Regions from separate parts of the Homo sapiens genome. Here all the other regions are linked to region 2. Evidence: promoter capture Hi-C in 16 types of primary human blood cells and fetal thymus (Javierre and others, 2016). All regions are on one chromosome and are shown on one strand. Each heading gives the region's core, a stretch centred on a gene start or on the middle of the fragment in contact. The rest is flanking DNA. Distances are from core to core; before and after follow the strand shown. Region 1 overlaps LINC03056 (long intergenic non-protein coding RNA 3056). Region 2 holds the start of AVPR1A (arginine vasopressin receptor 1A). Region 3 overlaps LINC03056 (long intergenic non-protein coding RNA 3056).

Region 1 (4,236 bases), core at 96-2,595, 150 kb before region 2:
GGCAAAGACAAAGATAGAAACTAAAATTTCAAAAATATACTTTGCTTGCAGTTTTGACTTTAGGGCCACGTAAATCTTTTGCACAAATATAGAACAAAATTTAATTTAGAAAAACAGCCCCTAAGAGTTGAAGGCAAATGAAAATGGAAGTTAATTGCTTATTAAGTTGGTGGCACAACTTTTCAGACAAGCTTAAGGCACAGTGATTCCAATGTACATTGCCTATAGACTATAACCTAAAGACAAAAAGGAATTAAAAAGAAAATTCATAAACTTTATTGGTATCCATATGTGCTAGTGATGTTGCTATTCTGAGACCATTTTGTGTGTTTTGTGGAATAAAGCAAATAAGTAATGATGTTGGTGTTATTGGGAACCAGGAATTTTAGCATAGGAGAAAGGTGATACAGATGTAAGTTCAATTAGGTTTCAGTTGTTTACCGATGATCCCAGGGTAACCAAATATTTGAGGAAGAGATTTTTTTAATAGACATATCCAATCAAGGACTGAAGAGGAAATGAAAGAATATCACATTTTGCAAACCATAATTGATGTATTAATGAATCTAGGCAATAGTCATCCATTACTGTCAACATTTGAAAAGAAGACATTTAGATAAGTGTTCCTGATGGAAGTACACAATACCACCCATGAAGTCATTATACCCCAATAATCCAACCTGAATCTAATAAGCTTCTAATAATTTCCCATCAATATAGGAGGATCAAAGAATATGTTAAGTGGCACAAATGGGATGCAATCAGCAAAATTCAGACAATAGAAAACATAATAGGACAAACTATCATTTACTTAAAAAATCTATCTATCTTTCTATCTATCTATCATCTATCTATCTAATCTATCTATGGAAAAAGAAAAAAGGTAGAGGGGGAACGTACAGAATAAAATAGACTTAAGAGACCTGTTGCAATTATGAACTTTATTTGGATTCTGATTTCTACAAACAAATTATAAAAAATAAATTATTAAAACATTTGTGAGACAACTGGGGGAATTTGAATGCTGGTTGGATAGTTGATGATAAAATGCACATATTTATATTTTAAGTGTGATAATGGCATCACATTTAAAATGGGTTTAGGTTTTCTTTTTAATAATCCTTATCTTTAGTGCTGCAAATAATACTACAAATAAAGTGATATGATTCTGGCATTTCCTTTAAAATGTTGGGTGTGAGGAGGATAGGTAGGGAAGAATATAGATGAACAAGATTATCCATACACTGAAAATTACTGAACTGGATGATGGGTATACTATATTCTGGTATATGTTTGAATTAGTCCATGATAAGTAGAACAAGAAATAATCATCCCCATACAGCATGGGCACACCCGAAAGCATGGGCATCCCCACAGCATGGGCACACCCAAAGCCTGGGCTAGGACCTGATCATCATGAGTGTGCTTTAGCAGTAGTGAACAATCACAGTCTGCTCATCTATGCAGGGCTGCTCTTCAACAGTGCTGAACCACGTTGAACAATCATGTGGCACAGATGCACTAGCCAGGGTCCAGCTCCTACCCAGTTGGAGTTTTGGAAGCTGGACTGATAGACTTGGGATTGAGTTAGGTTCCTGGTGTTCTTGAATAAATTGAGGAGTAGGAAAAACCTCCAGAATGATATCCTGAAATTTCATCTAACAAGAAACAGTGGTGGCTCCAAAGTAAATTGGCATAAAAAAGAGATGAGTCTCTATTTTGTAAATGTAGACTTAGTAAAACAGTTATACTGGTTAAATGAGATTCACATCATGAATAGATTTTAATTCTGTAAATCCTATGTTGATTTTTCTCCTATTACAAAACATGTTTTCTAAAACTTCTGAAAATCTACATTTCAATACTGATTAATTCAAGAGATAAAATAATTTTTATATATGCAATATATGTAGTTACTATTTAAACAAGAATTGAGTTGGCTTCATGTGCTAACCAAAGAGCTTTTCATTGCTTTTAGGATCATATCTAAGCTTCTTAACACAATCTAATAAGCCATTCATCCCTTCTATCCCACCACACCATATTCCAGCTTCATTTTTCGTTCTTTCAGTTTGTTAACCTTCTTTAATGCCTGAGATATCTTGCACTTAGGATTCTCTCTTCCCCAAAGCCCTTTCCCTATACTCCCACCCCATCGTTGTCCTGATCAAGTTCTACTTGTAACTAGGGACCAGATTAAATGTCTCCCAATGATGTCTTCACTGATAATTCAGAGTAGAATGGTACCCCTGATAAATTTCAGTAGCATCCTGCCCTTCACCTTTTGTAAAACTTCCATCTATGATTATGTAAGTATTTGTCCCTGTTTTGGTTACTGTTCATCTCTGTGACTAGAATGAATGAATGTTACATGAGACTGGAACAACTCCTGTCTTGTTTTCTGCTCCGTCCCAGCACTTAGAGTAGGCTACCTTGTTACCTAATAAATATTTGCTGAATTAATGAATGAAATCCTCATAGTGTTTTCCTTACTGAAAATCCTAAAGCTGTTTTCTCATATTTGGCGACCTACACTTGAGATATTTATCAAGATTTGTTCTATTTAAATTCTTAGCTCATCATTGACAAAAGCCAGATTTCTTTAATCTACTGTTTTGCTCCATCTAGTGACAATGTTTTAATCAAAATGTCTATTGTGTGAGTACTATTTTCAGTTTTAAGTGAAATGAGAAAGGAAACAGAACATTTTTGCCATTTTGTAGACAGGAATGACAAACAATGAGATTGTCAGATATTTAAATACAGATGTGTTGGCTCCAAATTTAAACTTACTGCTTGCAGCCTCCTAGCCCATCAATTATACTAGCATTTTCCTATTGTAGGCCAAGATTATCAGCTACTTGTAGATTTGTAGAACAACTTGGTTATTCTTTCTCTAAAAAACCCTCTTTAAAATTACATGAACACAACATGTTTTTGAATGTTGAATGATCAAGAGACCTAAAGAAACAAGAAGAATAATCTCCAAAGTGTTCACCACCCAGAGATACACTTGGTTTGTATATATTTTTGTTGTTTGTAATTTTAATGAAATTTCCATTACTCAGTGCCTGGACAAGGTCTGTAGTTTGATCTATATAATTTATACTCTTTTAATCTCCACAAAATGGATCCTATTTTATATACTGTCTGTAAGGTAATATTTTCTTTATGCTAAATATATCACAACTATGTGGTCTGGTAGGCAAGGAAAATCCACCTTTTATTTCTAGGAATGAAAGGTTTTGTGGTGTGTTCCTTAGAATATGCTTCCTGTGGACACTCAGTGAGTGCCTGTTGGCTGAGTCATGCCTGACTGCTGCTTTGTTTTCTTAAATAACATGAAACCTTGAAAACAAACTTACCAGTAACTATGATGGTTAATAAGTGACATACGGGACTGCTGTTTGTGGAAACATGAAAATTTAATTGTTCCTACCCTTGAGCTGACTGATTCCTCAGTGAATTCAGTGGAACTCATCTTAACATTATTATCTAAAATTCATTAGTCCTCAGTGTCTAATGTGTTCAAAAGTATAAGGTTTTATACTCTAAATTTTCTCTTGGAATGTGTCAGTACTAAAACTTCCCTATAAGTTTATTTATAATCCTTTAGTCTTAAATCTGTACTCTCATAGCGTGCCAGGCCGTATAACATCTTGTTATAATTATTTCACTGGACTTGCGAGGGACATTCCATCCAAACCTGCCACTTGGTTTGGAGTTAAGCATAAACAAACCAAATCTATTTTTACGTTCAACAATACTAAGAGGTCCCACTGCTTATCACATTATGATATGGAGGTCTAAATTCCCCAAGCCAAAACAAAATAAAACAACAATAGCAACAACAATTTGTCCCCTCTCTCAGTGGCCTTAAGTATCCCAAGTTGCTGTGGCTCTTCCATTTCATTATTTATGTATGTTGTTATTTGTTGGCTCAACATTCCAGCATCCTTCCCATAAGCTTATCTTCTCCCACTTCCCAAAACCACACGACTCAGAAGTAAACACATACTCTTATAAGAACACCCAGCACTTTGAGAGGCGGAGGTGGGTGGATCGCCTGAAGTCAGGAATTCGAGACCAGCCTGACCAACATGGTGAAACCCCGTCTCTCCAAAATACAAAAAAAATTAGCCGGGCCTGGTGGCACATGCCTGTAATCCCAGCTACCTGGGAGGGTGAGGCAGGAGAATTGCTTGAACCTGGGAGGCGGAGGTTGCAGTGAGCCAA
Region 2 (4,783 bases), core at 2,009-4,508:
CTTAGCCATTAGGCTGATGCCCTTTGGATTTAGGTGGTTTTTGATCAAGGTGAACTTTAAAATGGCAGGATGGTGATGCTCCTGCTCTGTCACCTTGTCTTGTGACATGTTCATCACCATTCCATGGGGAAAGTAAAAAAATGGGGAGTTTCCATGGTAAAATAACCTTGGAAAACATTGATGAACAAGGTTAAGTAAGTTTCTTTTCTGAAGTTTCTCAGGTCCTTTTTATGTATAAATCACCAGGAGAGGGTGGGATGCATACACAGCACTTCTCCAACATATTTAACCATAAAACTCTTCTCATTGCACATATGTAAATTGGGAATATTTTGCTTTAATTGGAAGGGAAAATGTTAATGGTAAAATAGCTGGTAATTTGGAGGATTTACATGTATGAAAAAAAGAAAATGTTTTGAACACCGATAAAATGCCAGAAATTTAAACAACCATTTATATAATCTTTGCAGCAACTGCATTGTGTTTAATCACCAAGATTTTACAGTGAAGAATTTGAAACTCGAAGATGAAAACAAAGTCTTACTGCTAGTAAGTGAAGGAGATAGCTGCTTCCATGAACTGAAGTACTTCTCAAATATCTGGAATTATGAAGTGAAAGGAAAGAAGATTGGTAAATGAAAGAGAATGATTATTCCAGGATATGTATGCACAACTTCCTTATTTTTTTCATTATTTCACCCCTAAAATTTGTTAACTGAAGTCTACAAAGAGTAAGAGGGAAAAGGTAAGTCTTAATAATACAAAAAGTACAGAGAAAATGTAAATTGCTCTAAGAAAAAGCACAAGGTGCCACATAAAATATTGTCTGTTGTGTTTTCTTTTTCATATTTTAAGACCACAATTATTTTACTCTCTATGGGGTAATTTAATAGCAGGTCCAGTGAGGCATATGAGTAGTGCCTCATATGTAATAGTCCTGCTTTCCTTTGTATATAAAACCAGTTAAATTAAGTCAAAAACATGTTTAAAACTATATGGATTAAACAAAGGGACTGGTTCTACAATCTGCAATGAACATTTTTTTTTCCTGCTTTCCAGGCCCCATGGCATCCAGCACAACCAGCGAGAGACAGATAGATGGATGATAGATAGATAGATAGATAGATAGATAGATAGATAGACAGATAGATAGATGATTGATTGACACATGATACATAGAATGGCCAGATGCATACATATAAACATACATCTATGTATCAAGCATATATACATTTGATATATATGGATAATTGGTACTGTTGTCACTGAACAATAATATCTTCCAACTGTATCCACCAACATAACTTGAGAGGTTATTTTTATAATTTGGATAATTGGATATAGTTTTATAATTGGATCAGATTGTCTGACACAGATGATTTCCTGAGAGGCCACCACCCTATCTCCTGGAATAAGAACCTCCACAGAGATATTGGTGAGCCTGTATTGCAGATTTCCTCTCCTGAAAAAAACCTAAAAGCTCAAGTGTGTAGGGCCAAGAGCCACAAAATTACTAGGCTGTGGCCAACAAACCACTTTTGCAATACCCAGACACTAGGTTCAGTCAACATTCTTTCTCATCAGGAGCACTAATAGTGTAATTTGTGACTTAAAAGAAAGTGAATTCTCTGAGTCAGTGACTATTACCTAATTGCTTGAAGGATTTTTTCCAGACAGGTGGTCTGGAAACCTTTTACCTATTACCTTCCATCCCTGAACCATTTCAATCTTCTGCCTCCTGGATATCTTGGAGAAAATGAACCAACACAACACAGCTTTCAGTTTTTAGAGCATTTCCCCCATACAGAACATTGTCTTACTTGATCTTCCCGATGACCTCAACAACAGGAAAGGCAGGTCCTTTCATTTCCATTTATAAGACGCACAGACCCAGGATTATCTAGCCACAGGAAGCAGGACTCCAGATTTCAAGTCCAGCATCTCAACGTGACAACCTTGGTAACTCTGCATGAACGGACTGGATAGTAAAGTGGAATTATTACTGAGAACTGCAATGAATAAAATCTTTTGCATTTTTTGCCTACGTTTCACAGAGGGTGATATTTTTCTGAGGCAATTAAATTTATACCACGGCCACAATACTGAAACGTTCTGACCAACAAAGTCATGCTCCTGCATCTACACAGCAGATAACTGCAGAAACGGCTTCCTTTCTTCCTTGTAAAATTGCCTGAAAACAGCTCCCCCTTGCTGTCCGTCGAGGCATATCTTCACCAACGTTAAAACAGAGCTGAGGGAGATCGCATTTCTGCCTCCCTCCCGCCCTGCAGAGGGGCTCCAGCTGTTCAGAGTAACGGATTACTAGGTAGGTGGTTGTTTCCCCTCCTTCCCAGGGCCTCTTTCCTCTCTTTGAGATTGCCTCTTTCTTACTCCTGAGCACAGGAGCCGGGCGGGTTTTCTGTCCCTTGCCCTGGACAGCACTGCCTGGATGGCCGCTGTCCGGCAGCTGCTCTTTGTCCACCCAAAAAGATGTCCCCACGACTCAGTAGTAACCAGACGGTCCCCACGGACCACTGCGGCCAAATTTCCGCCATCCCCGCTGTGGGAATCAGGCTTTTCCCGCAGAAAACCCCAGGAATCTAGAGAAAACTCCTTAAGTCCCTAGTCTCCATAGAGAAAACCAGGAGACACTCCCCCCAAACCCCGCTGTGAATACAGGCACAGCAGCCACTGGGGCTGCAAAGTGATGAGTGCGTTCTTCCCGTCGCAAACATAGGGTAATAAATAGCATGCATCAAAGACGTTACTAGGAAGAGATAGCTCTTTAAGTCACGAGCGGGGAGAAATGTTTGCCCCGGGAAAATTTGCCTGGGGAATAAAATTTGCCAGACTGCTGCACGGGTGAGCTCGGTGAGAAGGAAGAAACCCGGACTGGAGGAGGTGAGGTCGAGAGCCAGGTTCAGGTGCAGGAGCTAGATGCGTGGACGCCGGTGCGTGGACTGGAGGTTTCCAGGTACCGCGCTTAGCGTGCCTGTTGAAGTCAAATGCATGGTTAAGGAGGCTAGCGAGGAAGGCTAGTGAGGGAAGCTTGTGGAAACGGCTACGAGCCCAGAAAAGGCATGACTCGTCCAGTTGTCCAAGTTTTTGGAAGGGAAAAGCGGGAAAGCGCCACGATCCCACCTACTGTGAGGAGGAATCTGCGAGTCTCCCAGCTCCACCCCCTCCACAGTGATGCAGAGGACAAACACCGACGTAGGGAGAGGAAAAAATAAAACTCCAGGGAGCGGGGAGTAGGCAACCAGCAGTCTTCCGGCAATAGGGCGGGAGGGAGCGCGTCCCAAGGAAACAAGCACCGCATAAATACTTGAGTTGGGAACCCAGTGCTTCCGGAAGCTCGGAGCTCACCTTCCCGACCTCGCCGAAGTTGAAAAAAGGCAGAGCAGGGAGAGGGGCCAGCTCACCCTGCTGAGAGCTGCTCAGTGGGCAGGCGGGACGCTGCTCCGGGAGACGCCCACTGGAGGGATCGCAGAGCCCGGCAAGCTGCGAGCGCGCCAAAGACCCTGCGCTTCGGACGAGGAGCCCAAGTCCTCCGAGACGGGGAGGGAGCGGCCCGCGAGGGCTGGAGCTCCGAAGAGGGCCGAGTAGGAGCTGCATGGACAGCATGCGTCTCTCCGCCGGTCCCGACGCGGGGCCCTCGGGCAACTCCAGCCCATGGTGGCCTCTGGCCACCGGCGCTGGCAACACAAGCCGGGAGGCCGAAGCCCTCGGGGAGGGCAACGGCCCACCGAGGGACGTGCGCAACGAGGAGCTGGCCAAACTGGAGATCGCCGTGCTGGCGGTGACTTTCGCGGTGGCCGTGCTGGGCAACAGCAGCGTACTGCTGGCTCTGCACCGGACGCCGCGCAAGACGTCCCGCATGCACCTCTTCATCCGACACCTCAGCCTGGCCGACCTGGCCGTGGCATTCTTCCAGGTGCTGCCGCAAATGTGCTGGGACATCACCTACCGCTTCCGCGGCCCCGACTGGCTGTGCCGCGTGGTGAAGCACCTGCAGGTGTTCGGCATGTTTGCGTCGGCCTACATGCTGGTAGTCATGACAGCCGACCGCTACATCGCGGTGTGCCACCCGCTCAAGACTCTGCAACAGCCCGCGCGCCGCTCGCGCCTCATGATCGCGGCCGCCTGGGTGCTGAGCTTCGTGCTGAGCACGCCGCAGTACTTCGTCTTCTCCATGATCGAGGTGAACAATGTCACCAAGGCCCGCGACTGCTGGGCCACCTTCATCCAGCCCTGGGGTTCTCGTGCCTACGTGACCTGGATGACGGGCGGCATCTTTGTGGCGCCCGTGGTCATCTTGGGTACCTGCTACGGCTTCATCTGCTACAACATCTGGTGCAACGTCCGCGGGAAGACGGCGTCGCGCCAGAGCAAGGGTGCAGAGCAAGCGGGTGTGGCCTTCCAAAAGGGGTTCCTGCTCGCACCCTGTGTCAGCAGCGTGAAGTCCATTTCCCGGGCCAAGATCCGCACGGTGAAGATGACTTTTGTGATCGTGACGGCTTACATCGTCTGCTGGGCGCCTTTCTTCATCATCCAGATGTGGTCTGTCTGGGATCCCATGTCCGTCTGGACCGGTACGTGCCGGGAAAATAGAGGAAAGTGCAGGGATAGGAGTGTGTGTGTGTGTGTGTGTGTGTGTGTGAGAGAGAGAGAGAGAGAGAGAGAGAGAAAAAAATGAGAATCTAGCAATTTTCTTCATAGTATCTTCTAGGGCAGTAGTTTTTAAACTTCTATGTGTACATAAGAGTCGCACCTTGGAGGAACA
Region 3 (4,783 bases), core at 2,033-4,532, 160 kb before region 2:
TTTCCAGCTCCCCTCTCCACTGAGAGCTGCTCTCATCACTCAATAAAATTCTTTGCGTTTGCCATCCTTCAATTTGTCCATGTGACCTCATTCTTCCTGGTCACTGGACAAGAATTTGGGATCCACCAAGTGTGGGTACCCAAAACAGCTATCACACTGGCCGTTTGCCCTTGCTAGTGGAGGTCAGCCACCCTACGTGATGAGGCAAAGGGCCCAGTGAGCTGATATACTGCTGTCCGCAGACAGTGGAACTAAGACAGCACTGTAACACACCCTCTGGGGCCTTGGGGTGACAAGCACCCCCACCTGGATGCTGCCGCAGAGCCTGCATGAAGTTTGCTCCTGTGGACGCGGAAGCAACTGGCCACTTCCTGCACTTACTTGCCTATGTGTGCACTTCTGTGAGGGGTGGAATGCAGCAGGTCTAAGTGAACAGTTTGCTCCTGCTAGTGCCGAAGCACCTGACCAGTTCCCACACTTGTTCACTTGCATGCTCCCTTCTGTGAGGGGTTGAGCAGGGCAGGGTGAATAAATGAGACACCCCTGTCACAAGTCCCATGAAGGGGTCAAGAAAAAATCCTGCATCATCTTGAGGCTCACCCAGGATTTGTCAGAAGGGTGAATAAATGTGGATCTGTTGGATCTGTCTCTTCATTTTTTTTCCCCAAGACTTCTTGTCCTCATACTTTCCTCTGAAGGCAAATGACGCACCAAACCTCTGAGTGGCCAATTAAGGATGAATGGCACAGCTGTAGATGACAGAATGTGACCCTGCCACCTCTCTTTTGGGTGAAAGGAATGTTGGCTCTGTTTCCCTTCACAGAGGTCTAGCCATTGCGTGGGACTGGGATAAAGTCCTGAGGAAACTGAAGGCGTCTGATTGAGGCCACTCCCCGGTGTTGCCGTAAGGCCCCTAGACTTGGCTCAGTCCCCAACTGCCCATTAGGGCATCAGCCAAGACCCCCAGATTTTTCTGTTATTTGTCCTTCCTTCTTTCACGGTTTGAAATGGCGCCTCTCTCTTCTTTTATAATGTTAAGGGTGTTACTACAAACTGCAGAAATGTTACTAGGTAGGAGCATTTAGCCAATCCATCAGATATGCAATTCAGAACAATGCAATTTCCATCTGTTCTTAGAGGAGTCACTCCCACCTCATCCCAACACCCAAAGGCGTGCACAGTGCACAGCGGCTCCCCCACCCCGCCCCCTCCACTCCCAGGTGGGGCACTTGGGCATGTCCACTGCATGTATGTGCTGTGCCCAACGGGCACATGAGGCAGGAAAGAACCACAGTCACCGCCCAAGCCCCAGGGCAGTCTTGGGGGCCAGGGGCCCCATGCAGCCATTTGGCCAGCATTTCCTGCTTGTCATTCCCTCCCATCATGTGTCCACAGAGTCTTCCCTCCCCTGGCGGAGAGCTCCAGCTCAGTCCAAACCAGAGGAAGGATACGGTGATTAAAGGAACCCATTTGCATAGAGCAAGAGGTTCTCCACGTGCCTCTGACACTTAAGCTGGTTTTTCTTTTTCCTTTTCTATGCAAGAGGGTGTTTTTTTCTACCTTACACTCTGCTTATGGCAGGGAAGCAATGGAGGAGCGACCCCACCAGCTGATAACTGCAAATTTGAAAAGCCCCATCTGTAACTTAATCTAAATGAATCCATGCACCCCCTGAGATACCTTTTTCCAAACTTGGTTCCAAGCTTTAGGTTGAAGCCCTAGAAAGGAAAACTAGATCTGAGTGATTCAAAGCCAGGCAACAGACATAGCATAGATGGGCAGGACTAATTCCTGCTGATTAAGTCCCCGCTTCATGATAGGAGGCCAAGCTCCATGGCATAGATGAGGCCCAGGGAACCCAAAGGTTGCCTACAGTAGGGAGGGTGGAGGCATAGGTGAGTGCAAATAAATCCTATTTTCCAGGCCCCCCGCCCCCTGCCCCCCCACCAAGTTTCATGGGTGCAGGTCACACCAGCACTCATGGGCAGCATCTGTCTAAGGTTGCCAGGACTCGGGGATGAAAAGATGAAAGGAAAAAGAGGTATGCCCTTTTTTGTTCTCTCCCTCACACCCTGGGTTTTTGCTGAAAGAGGGAAGGGAAATAAGGTATGCCTATTTCTCTCTCTTTCAGAGTGGGCAACCAACTATCCTTACCATCTTCAGTCCATACTCCTCTGGAGTGTATCCTGAATCTTTGGGACTGTTTTGACCCTCAGACCCTGGAGAAAAAATGCCTCATAGCCCTCTGCACAAAGGTTTGGACATATTATGATCTGCAGGAAGGACTGGCTTGGCCTCAGGAAGGAACCATTCATTTTGATACAATCTTTCAGTTGGACTTTTTCTGTAAACACAAAGGCAAATGGTCTGAGGCCCCATATGTGTAGGCTTTCTTTACCTTGCAGGGTAATACAGACCTTTGCCAACATGTAGGATTGATCCGGCTCTCCTGTTTGCCATCTCAGGAGAGGCTGCACGGGTCAATCTCAGGGAACTAAAAAATCAAACCCCAGAGAAACCTCCAGCAGGGGATCCAGCTCCCTCTAGCCCTGCTCCCCTGGATCCACCTTGGCCTCCCTATCCAGTTTCTCTCTTTAGCTTGCCTCCTCCTAGAAATCCTCACCCTAGACAAGGCCCAGTACCACTTATGCCCCTCCAACAGATGCCTGGTGAATTTGGCCCCAGTAAAATCCAGGTCCCCTTCTCTCTACAGGAATTAAGGCAAATTAAGGCGGATCTTGGCAAAGTTTTAGATGATCTTGACAGATATATAGAGGCTCTCCAGAATTTAACCAAAGTATTTGAACTCTCCTGGAAAGATGTTATGTTACTTTTGAATCAAACTCTGACTAATGCTGAGAAGCAGGCCACTCTGCAAGTGGCAGAGAGATTTGGGAATGAGCTTTGTATCTCATATAGTGTCAGGGAAGGGGACAAACTTTATCCAACTGGAAGAGAATCAGTACCACTGGATGACCCTAAATGGGATCCTAATGATGAGATGGGAGATGGAAGAGGAAACGCTTTCAGGTGTGCATAATGGGGGTGCTTACGTAGGACTAGAACTAAGCCTCACAATTATACCAAGCTATTCATGATAGATCAGGGATTTGATGAGAATCCCACTGCCTTCCTGGAAAGGCTAAGAGAGGCCTTGGTAAAGCACACTTCTCTAGCTCCTGATTCAGTTAAGGAACAACTAATCCTAAAAAATAAGTGTATTACTCAGGCAGCCCCTGATATCAGGAGGAAGCTACGGAAACAAGCTGTTGGACCAGATAGTACTTTAGAGAACTTCCTAAAAGTGGCCACCTCGGTCTTTTATAATAATATAATAATAGAGATAGGGAGGCCAAGGAGAGAGGGAGAAAGAGAGAGAGAAGGAGGGAGGGAGGGAGGGAGGGAGAGAGAGAGAGAATGAAGACACAGGAAAAATGCAGAGGCTTTAATGGTCACCATGCAAGACCACAAATCCCAAAATCCCTGAGGTGTACTTGTTAACTGCTTCAAATGTGGCAAGCCAGGGCATTTTAGGAAGGATTGCCCAGGCAGCATGAGAAAGCCACCTCAACCCTGTCCAATCTGCAATTGGGACCACTGGAAGGCAGACTGTCCCTAGGGATGCTGGTCACCAGGTTCAGAGCCAATCTCCCAAACAGTCCAACAGGACTGATGAGTCCCAGGGCTCCTCTTCCCCACCCTGGTGGTCCAGACTACTATTACCATCCAGGAGTCCTGGGTAATTCTGGAAATTGAAGGGAGGAAAGTGGATCTCCTTCTGGACACTGGGGTGGGTCTCTCAGTTCTCCTCTCCAATCCAGACTCCCTCTTCTCTCTTAGCATGACCTGTGAGGGGCATCTCAGAAAGGCCTTTAACTTGATATTTTTGTCAACCCCTTAGTTGTAGTTGGGGAAACCTATTGTTACTCATGCCTTTCTAATTGTGCCTGAAAGCCCAACTCCTCTTTTAGGCAGAGATATTCTGGCCCATATGGGGACCACCATCCTGATGGCCCCAGGACAAATTCTTTGTCTCTCCCTGGTGGAGACCTTTAACCCAGACATTTAGGCAATTCAAGCCAAAATCGGCCAAGTTACAACTGCCATACTGGTCCAGATCCACCTTAAGAATCTCACCCCCTTTCCTAACCAGAGACAGTATCCCTTGAAACCAGAAGTTAGGAAAGGACTAGAAGCCATCAATGATAACTTAAGGTTGCAGGGCCTCCTCAACAGGCCCTGGGACCAGAAGATTACACTAGTGCAGGATATTGGGGGCATTCTTGGGGGGATGGGAGACTGTCACTTGTATTTATTGTGACTCTAAATCTTTGATAGTAAAACAAATGTAAAAAAAAAAGTTTACCACCAAATGAGAATAGAAGTTTCAATAAACAGCCTGGATTGGGTGACTATACATTGTATCATAAGGAAGTTTTAGACTCTGAAGAATAGTAAAGAAATGGATGATGTGTCCAAAAATAAAAATAAAAAAACAGCCCTTGTAGTACCCCAATATTAAGGTACAAAAACCCAATGGGGAACGGAGACTAGTTCAGGACCTCCACCTCATTAACGAGGCTGTGGTTTTAATTCACCCAGTGACTCCCAATCAGTATTCCGTGCTAGCTCAAATACCTGAGGGAACTAAATAGTTCACAGTCCTGGACCTAAAGCATGCCTTCTGCATACCATTAAACCCTGACTCCCAGTACTTTTTTGCATTTGAAGATCCATCTAACCAAACCACCCAGCTAACCTGGACAGTGTTACCTCAGGGATT

The links. The method cuts DNA at HindIII sites, captures the fragments that hold promoters and counts their contacts. A CHiCAGO score of 5 or more calls a contact.
Region 1: a fragment that was not itself captured here is called in contact with the fragment with the promoter of AVPR1A in region 2 in 1 of 17 cell types (megakaryocytes); the score reaches 6.0 in megakaryocytes.
Region 3: a fragment that was not itself captured here is called in contact with the fragment with the promoter of AVPR1A in region 2 in 1 of 17 cell types (megakaryocytes); the score reaches 5.3 in megakaryocytes.

The regions. Positions count from the first base shown.
Region 1 is chr12:63,293,519-63,297,754 of GRCh38, reverse strand. The region is part of intron 1 of LINC03056 (long intergenic non-protein coding RNA 3056); the gene reads left to right. Among named protein-coding and RNA genes, the nearest start is that of LINC03056, 78 kb to the left of the region's middle. The HindIII fragment of the contact is 1,297 bases long and covers 697-1,993 here.
Region 2 is chr12:63,149,676-63,154,458 of GRCh38, reverse strand. AVPR1A (arginine vasopressin receptor 1A) reads left to right here and starts at 3,258. Exons shown (of 2, transcript NM_000706.5): 1 at 3,258-4,592. The coding sequence starts at 3,623. The HindIII fragment of the contact is 3,248 bases long and covers 3,051-4,783 here.
Region 3 is chr12:63,314,068-63,318,850 of GRCh38, reverse strand. All of the region lies in intron 1 of LINC03056 (long intergenic non-protein coding RNA 3056), which reads left to right. Among named protein-coding and RNA genes, the nearest start is that of LINC03056, 57 kb to the left of the region's middle. The HindIII fragment of the contact is 3,154 bases long and covers 1,706-4,783 here.